Regions from separate parts of the Homo sapiens genome. Here region 2 is linked to region 1. Evidence: promoter capture Hi-C in human tissues and cell types (Jung and others, 2019). All regions are on one chromosome and are shown on one strand. Each heading gives the region's core, a stretch centred on a gene start or on the middle of the fragment in contact. The rest is flanking DNA. Distances are from core to core; before and after follow the strand shown. Region 1 holds the start of TRPV2 (transient receptor potential cation channel subfamily V member 2). Region 2 overlaps LRRC75A (leucine rich repeat containing 75A).

The links. Contacts are between HindIII fragments. The study calls those that stand out against the background at their distance.
Region 2: a fragment that was not itself captured here is called in contact with the fragment with the promoter of TRPV2 in region 1 in 1 of the 25 tissues and cell types used here (neural progenitor cells).

Annotation. Positions count from the first base shown.
Region 1 is chr17:16,414,272-16,417,879 of GRCh38, reverse strand. TRPV2 (transient receptor potential cation channel subfamily V member 2) reads right to left here and starts at 2,309. Exons shown (of 15, transcript NM_016113.5): 1 at 2,047-2,309; 2 at 12-318. The coding sequence starts at 211. RefSeq lists enhancers at 579-688, 1,029-1,078, 1,339-1,408, 2,359-2,478 and a silencer at 1,519-1,638. The HindIII fragment of the contact is 18,759 bases long and covers 1-3,608 here.
Region 2 is chr17:16,454,102-16,458,143 of GRCh38, reverse strand. All of the region lies in intron 2 of LRRC75A (leucine rich repeat containing 75A), which reads left to right. The region is part of intron 3 of SNHG29 (small nucleolar RNA host gene 29); the gene reads right to left. Among named protein-coding and RNA genes, the nearest start is that of SNORD65, 15 kb to the right of the region's middle. RefSeq lists enhancers at 762-1,261, 1,262-1,763. The HindIII fragment of the contact is 8,128 bases long and covers 1-4,042 here.

The DNA of each region.
Region 1 (3,608 bases), core at 1,060-3,559:
TGCTGTCTCACCTGGCACCTGTTCCCTTTCGGTAGTTGAGGTTGACTCTTATCTGAGGGGCGAATTTCCGGTCCTCGCCCTGGAACTGTGACTCCATGGGAGGCAGCCCGCTCCCAAAATCCAGCTTTCCTCTGTCCGCCTCAGAGCCATCTTCTTGGCCTCCATCTAATGTCTCCAACCTGAAAACTGGAGAGCTGGAGGGTGAGGTCATCCTAGGAGGAGGAGGCTGCTCGGTCCAGCCAGGACCTCTGTGCAGATGGAGATGTCAAGGGTCCTGTCTTCCTCCCAGCTGCGCGTCGGTGTTGGCCTGACTGGAGCCTGCAAAAGGAGGTATTAGGTTAGTGCAAAAGGCTGGGCGTGGTGGCTGGGTGTAATCCCAGCACTTTGGGAGGCTGAGGCTGGCTGGTCAGCTGTTAGAGACCAGCCTGACCAACATGGTGAAACCCCATCTCCACTAAAAAAAATACAAAAATTAGCTGGGCATGGTGGCTTGTGCCTGTAATCCCAGCTACTAGGGAGGGTGAGGCAGGAGAATTGCTTAAACCCGGAAGCTAAGATGGCACCACTGCACTCCAGCCTGGGCAACAGAGCAAGACTCTGTCTCAAAAAAAAAAAAAAAAAAAATTGCGGTTTTTGCCATTACTTCTCATTACTTCTAATGGCAAAAATGCCAAGTGCAAGTAGGTCCACCCACTGTGTGGGAGCCCAGCCCCAATGCAGGGGAAGTGGGCCAGGAGGGATGAGCAGCAGGGGTGAGGAGAGGGAGGGAGGCCTGTGGGGTGAGGAACAGGGAACCAATAGGGCCACCCTTTTGATGTTGTCCCCCAGGAAGAGCCATGACTGTCCCCGACTTTTCCTCTGGGACTTCCTGGAATCTGAGGGGTCACAACCCCTGTTACCATTTACATTAACAGCACAACCCTTTCTTTACACAACGTCTTGCCTGGCAGCCAATATTCCAACAGATAAAAGTGCGATGACTGGGATGGGGCCAGTCACTCAACCCCTCGCCAAAGAAGGGGAGCTCTAAGAAGAAATAACTGGGAAAACCACTAGACTATCAAACCCTTCATTTTGCTGCCAAGACTACTAAGGCTTAGAAAGGGGGAGTGGCTTTCCCAAGGTCGCCAGTTGTTGGCAGAGCCGGATCTGACACCATGCGTCTACCATGACGTTCCTCTTCCGTTTTCAAAGCCTTTCAGGGTCTGTCTATATTTTCAGTCTGATTCAGCTCTGAAGGCATCGAATACTACCTTTGTGTGCCTCAGGGCCTCTGGGGGCTTCACGAAGGGAGGGAGGCCCCTAGCCTGTGGCCCAGGCTCTCTCCACCACGCTGCCTCAGGCCCTAGGCTGGCCTAGGAAGCTCAGCAAACAGCACAATCTCACCCTCACAGGAAAACTGAAACCACAGCCTCCATCACTTGGCAAGGGTGGGGCCTCGGTCAGGGTTGGGGAACCCTCATGGGCCCAGTGAGCAGGATCAGAAAGAAGAAGGAGTCAAAGAGTGGTAAGGAGACAGAAGGGTGGAGAAGGGGGCAGGGGGCAGGGGGCAGAGAGCAGAGAGGAGCGGCACCAGCAGAGGGAAGTGGAGAGGGTAGGCTGGGACCAGGCCCTGGGGACCCGGGTGGGGTATTTTCCCATGGAAACATGGGAGGTGGGGAGCTGCCTGGCTGCCTCAGTTTGCAGATGTGACCCACCACCCTTTCTACACACACTGGGGCAGAAGGGTGCTCTTTCCGTTTCATACCGTTTAGCCCATCTGTGTCCCCAACCAAACCCTGGCCCATTCCTCCAGCCCTAGACTCCCAAGCCCCAGCAGCAACAGTTGTCTGTCCAGCCCCCACCCCACCTCCTGGGACCCTCACCCACCCTGGCAGCAGAGGAAGGGGTGTGGAGGTCCAGGGAGAGGGTGCTGGAGCCCCACACAGACCCTGGCTCCAGGCTGTAGAAGCCAGGAGCCCACTAGGCCTTCCCCACCCCATCATTCACTGTCAGGCTTGGAGACCCGGCCCCCTCCAACGTCCCCAGCATTGCCCACCGACTTACCCCGCAGGCTGAGGCCAGGGCGTGGCGGCTGCTGGGATCCCGGAGCTTCTCAGTAGCAGGGGCTGCGGGAGGAAGTGAAGCCGGGAGGGGCTGCCGGCGCTGACAGCAGAGGAGCGGCGGAACCTCCCTCCCCAGCTCTGAGCACTAAGCTCCAGCAAGCAGGTTCTGGTCTCTCGGTCACCCTCAGCCCACCTGGCCAGCCGGCACGGTGGAGAACGGGAGCTTAACTCTCCCCTGTCAGGACAGGCTAGCCACCAGAGACTGACCATCTGGACACACCCTGCTGCGAATCAGGCTCCACCCCCACCCCTCCCCCTTCTAGCCACTAAGGTCTCAGGTGGGGGTGGGTGACACTCAGAGGCAGCCCTTGGATGCTGGGGACTTGCCACCCATGGAAGCTGCCATGGATGGGGGATTCTTCCCCAAGTCCACTGACAGCTATCTCCTCCCCTTCTCCACCACATGCCTTCCAAGCAGCCGTGTGGCCCATAAATGGGCCTGAGTTGACCCATGGCAGGGGAGAAAGCTGATGTGGACAGCCCCCAGGGAGAGGCTCAGCCCAGCAGATGCCCCTGGGAACACAGTCCCACCCACCCATCCACCCAGCAGTTGGGGGACTTTCCCACCTCCCAGGACCTTCTCCCAGCCTCCTGACCCCAGGACTCTGATGGCTAAAGTTCCCCTAAAGGTGCTCCAAGCACCAGCCAGCAGGTGGAGACAAGGAGGTGGGCACGCACTGCTAAAATCAGACCTCACCACCAACGGGGCCCTGGTCTGGACTCAGTCTTGGAGCTTGGGGACCCAACCACCACCGAAGTAGCCCTAGGAATCTCTCTCCCTCACTCCCAAAACCTGGCATCAGCTCTTCCTCCAAAATTTGTCTTTCTGAGTGGTCCAAGCCACTATCACTGCTCCCCTGGGCAACTGCAGCCACCTCCAAACTGGTCTCCCTGCTTCATTCTTGCCCCACACTCATAATCCATTTCTCCTTATAGCAACTGAAGTGACCTTTTAAAAATGGGAACCAGGGCCGGGCGCAGTGGCTCACACCTGTAATCCCAGCACTTTGGGAGGCCGAGGTGCATGGATCACTTGAGGTCAGGAGTTCAAGACCAGCCTGGCTAACATGGCAAAACCCCATCTCTACTAAAAATACAAATATTAGCTGGATATGGTGGTGGGCACCTGTAATCTCAGCTACTTGGGAGGCTGACGCAGGAGAATCGCTTGAACCTGGGAGGCGGAAGTTGCAGTGAGCTGAGATTGTGCCACTGCACACCAGCCTGGACAACAGAGCGAGACTCTGTGTCAAAAAAGAAAAAAAAAGAAAACCAGGTCACCTAACGCCTTGACTTAATCACAAAACCTCACCCATGGTGCTTGGAATAAAATGCAAACTCCATACCATGAGCCCTCAAAGTCCAGATGCCCTTCTCCATCGCTATCCGTCACTCATGGCAACCCTGTCATGCACATTACACTCTAGGCCTGCGCCATCCAATAAGATAGTCACTAGCCACAATGACTGTTTAGATTTAAATCAATTATAATAGGCCTCACGC
Region 2 (4,042 bases), core at 1,150-3,649, 40 kb before region 1:
TAGTAGAGACGGGGTTTCACCATGTTGGCCAGCCTGGTCTCAAACTCCTGACCTCAGGTGATCCACCCACCTTGGCCTTCCAAAGTGCTGGGATTACAGGTGTGAGCCACTATGCCTGGCCTTGCTTTTTTGTTGTTGTTGTTGTTTGTATTTGTTTGTTTGTTTGTTTTGAGACAGGGTCCCACTCTGATGCCCAGGCTGGAGTGCAGAGGTGTGATCATAACTTTCTGCAGCCTGGAACTACTAGGCTCAAGTGATCCTCCCACCTCACCTTCCCAAGTAGCTGGGACTGCAGGCAGGCACCACCATGCCTAGCTAATTTTTTGTTTTTTTTTTTCTTGTAGAGACGGGGCACTCACTATGTTGCCAAGGCTGGTCTCAAACTCCTGGCCTCAAGCAATCCCCCTCCCTTGGCCTCCCAAAGCACTAGGATTGCAGGTGTGAGCCCAACCCCCACAATACCTTTTAAGACCCAGTCTCAGAAGTCACAAACCATCATTTCCACCATTCTATTGGTTCTAATGATTCTGTTGCTCACTTAGACCAGCCCTGCTACAATGTGGAAGGACATTACACAGGGGCACAGATGCCAGGAGCCGAGAGCAGCAAGGCTGTCTTGGAGGCCGGCGGCTGCACATGCCGAAGTGGGGGAATCAGAATAAACTCCCCCATCCGTCTCTCCTCCTGCCCTCTGGTCTTGCTGCCATTGCTCCCATTAGCTGAACCCAAGTGGAAGCCAGGGGGAAGAGAGCCCAGTGATGCAGTCTCTAGAGCCCAGCCTTCTGAGCAGAGAAGGGCAGAGTGGACTGTGGGGCAAGAGGAAACAGAAAAGCCGGCACACAGTCTCTGCATCTGGAATGGTGTCCAGTGTAATGAGGGGGACAGTCAACATTTGATGAATGTATGAATGAATTTATGGATGAGGGAGGGATAGCCTTGAATGGAGGGCAGTGGAGGGCTGTGCTTGTCGGGGTCCTGGAGCAGTTACAGAGGTGCCTGGGGAGTGAAGATGGCAGATGGTATCACTGCCTGATGGCTGAGAGCCAGAGCAGTGTCGGGTGCTGGTACCCCTCCCAGGTCAGCCTGCAGGTCAGCACGTCATCTTTCCTGACAGATTAATGAGAAGCCCCTCAAACACGTTCTGCCCCAGGACCTGGGCAGCCTCACTGGGAAGGTCTGGAGAGGCTGCTGCCCTGACCTGCACTCATAGTCACTTGACTGTGCCACATCCCACTCCTGCCATCTTCAGGGATCGGGGGAGGACTGCAAAGCATTGATTCAGCACACAGCCATTGAGCCTTCTGGGCGGGTTAGGATTCTGCTGCACATAACAGAAGCCCAGGCGGGCTGGCTCCAGCAAGGAAGAAAATGTGTTCTACAGATATCGAGGTGTCTTGTGGTGCCCACGGGCAGCCAAGTTAGACCAAGGTGCTAGAACTATAGATAAGCACGGTGCAGAGGTCCCTCCTTCCCTCCTCGCTGCTCTACCCTGCCTCCCTCTGTGTTCCCTCTGCACAGACTGCTCTTCCCCCTGCCGCATGGTAGGGAATGTGGCTAGCTATGGCTCCCAGGTTACTTCTCAGGGTTCCAGCCACTGGAGGAGTTAGGGTATGTGTGTCTCAGTGTCAAGTCCAGCTTCCTCCTCCTCTTCCTCTTCCTCCTCCTCTTCTTTCTCCTTCTCCTCTTCTTCCTCTTCCTCCTCCTCTTCCTTCTTCTGCTCCTCTTCCTCCTCCTCCTCTTCCTCCTTTTCCTTCTTCTCTTCCTCCTCCTCTTCCTTCTCTTCCTCCTCCTCTTCCTTCTCTTCCTCCTCCTCTTCCTTCTTCTCCTCTTCCTCCTCCTCCTCTTCCTTCTCTTCCTCCTCCTCTTCCTCCTCCTCCTCTTCCTGATCCTCTTCCTTCTTCTCCTCCTTTCTCCTCTTCTTCCTCCTCTTCCTCCTCCTCTTCCTCCTCCTTCCTCCTCTTCCTCCTCCTACCCCTCCTCTTCCTCCTCCTCTCCCTCCTCTTCCTCCTCCTCCTACTACTGCTACTCCTCCTCCTCCCCCTCCCCTTCCTCCTCCTCCTCTCCCTCTTCCTCTTCCTCCTTCTCCTCCTCTCCCTCCCCCCGTTCCCCACCTTCTTACTGCTCCACTTCTGGGCCAGTGCTGCCTAGTCCTGTTCTCTGCAGGAGGGAGCCCTGGAGGGGTTCTTTGAAAAGTGGAAGAGTTGGGAAAAAATGAGACAGTCTCACTGAAGGCTTTTCTGGTTGTAAATGATAGAAACACTTTGAACTGACCTAAGCCAAAGACAGGATTTCTCACAAGGAGGGCAGCAGATAGCGGTTAGGAGCATCAGCCTCAGAGCTGGCTGACTTTAGATCCTGACTCCGTCTTACAAGCTGGGAGGCCTTGCCCATCTATTTAAGTTCTTTTTGCCTCAGTTCCCTCATTTGTAAAGCGGGGTTATTAATAATACCTGTCTCATAGGGTTGTAGTAAGGTATGGGACTATAGTTTGTAGGGCACTTAGGGAGGTCGAGGCAGGTGGACCACTTGAGGTCAGGATTTGAGACCAGCCTGACCAACATGGTGAAACCCCGTCTCTAATAGAAATACAAAAAAAATTAGCCGGGCATGGATGGCGGGTGCCTGTAGTCCCAGCTACTCGGGAGGCTGAAGCAAGAGAACCGCTTGAATCTGGGAGATGGAGGTTGCATTGAGCTGAGATTGCGCCACTGCACTCCAGCCGGGCGACAGAGCAAGACTCCGTCTAAAAAAAAAAATTGTAGGGCAGAACTGTGTGGTACTTTTCCCTCACTCATTATAAGGGTCATGGCTGACACTCCTATAACCAGACACAGGGTAACAAAAAAGCAGAACAAATGTGTTTAATCAAAATTTTACGCAACATGGGAGCTTTCAGAAATGAAGACGCTCAGGTGAGGCACGGTGGCTCACACCTGTAATACCAGCACTTTGGGAGGCCGAGGCAGGCGGATCGTCTGAGGTCAGGAGTTCAAGACCAACCTGGCCAACATAGTGAAACCCTGTCTCTACTAAAAATACAAAAATTAGCTGGGCGTGGTGGCACGCGCCTGTAATCCCAGCTACTCGGGAGGCTAAGCCAGGAGAATCACTTGAACCTGGGAGACGGAGGTTGCAATGAGCTGAGATGGTGCCACTGTACTCCAGCCTGAGGGCGGGGACAGAGCAAGACTCCGTCACTAAAAAAAAAAAAGAAAAGAAAAGAAAAGAAAAGAAATGAGGACCCTTAGCCCCAGCTACCTGGGAGGCTGATACAGGAGGATTACATGAGTCCAGGAATTCAATACCAGCAAGGCCAATATAGTGAGACCCCCATCTCTTTAAAAAAAGAAAGAAATGAAGACCCCAAACCCCAGGGAAAGAGGTTTTTTTGTTTTTTTGGTTTTTTGTTTGTTAGAATTTGTTTATTTTAATTATATTTATTTATTTATTTTAAAACGGAATTTTGCTCTTGTTGCCCGGGCTGGAGTGCAGTGGCGTGATCTCGGCCCACCTCAACCTCTGCCTCCTGGGTTCACGCGATTCTCCTGCCTCAGCCTTCCGAGCAGCTGGGATTACAGACATGCACCACCATGCCTGGCTAATTTTGTATTTTCAGTAGAGATGGGGTTTCTCCATGTTGGTCAGGCTGGTCTCAAACTCCCAACCTCAGGTGATCCGCCCCCCTCTGCCTCCCAAAGTGCTGGGATTACAGGCATGAGCCACCACGCCTGGCCTGTTTGTTTGTTTGTTTTTTGACAGAGTCTCACTCTGTTGCCCAGGCTGGAGTGCAATGACGTGATCTCGGCTCACTGGACCCTCCACCTCCTGGGTTCAAGCAACTCTCCTGCCTCAGCCTACCAAGTAGCTGGGACTACAGGTGCCCGCCACCATGCCTAGCTAATTTTTTGTATTTTTAGTAGAGATGGAGTTTCGCCGTGTTGGCCAGGCTAGTCTCGAACTCCTGACCTCAGGTGATCCACCCACCTCGGCCTCCCAAAGTGCTGGGATTACAGGCGTGAGCCACCACACTCAGCCAGCTATC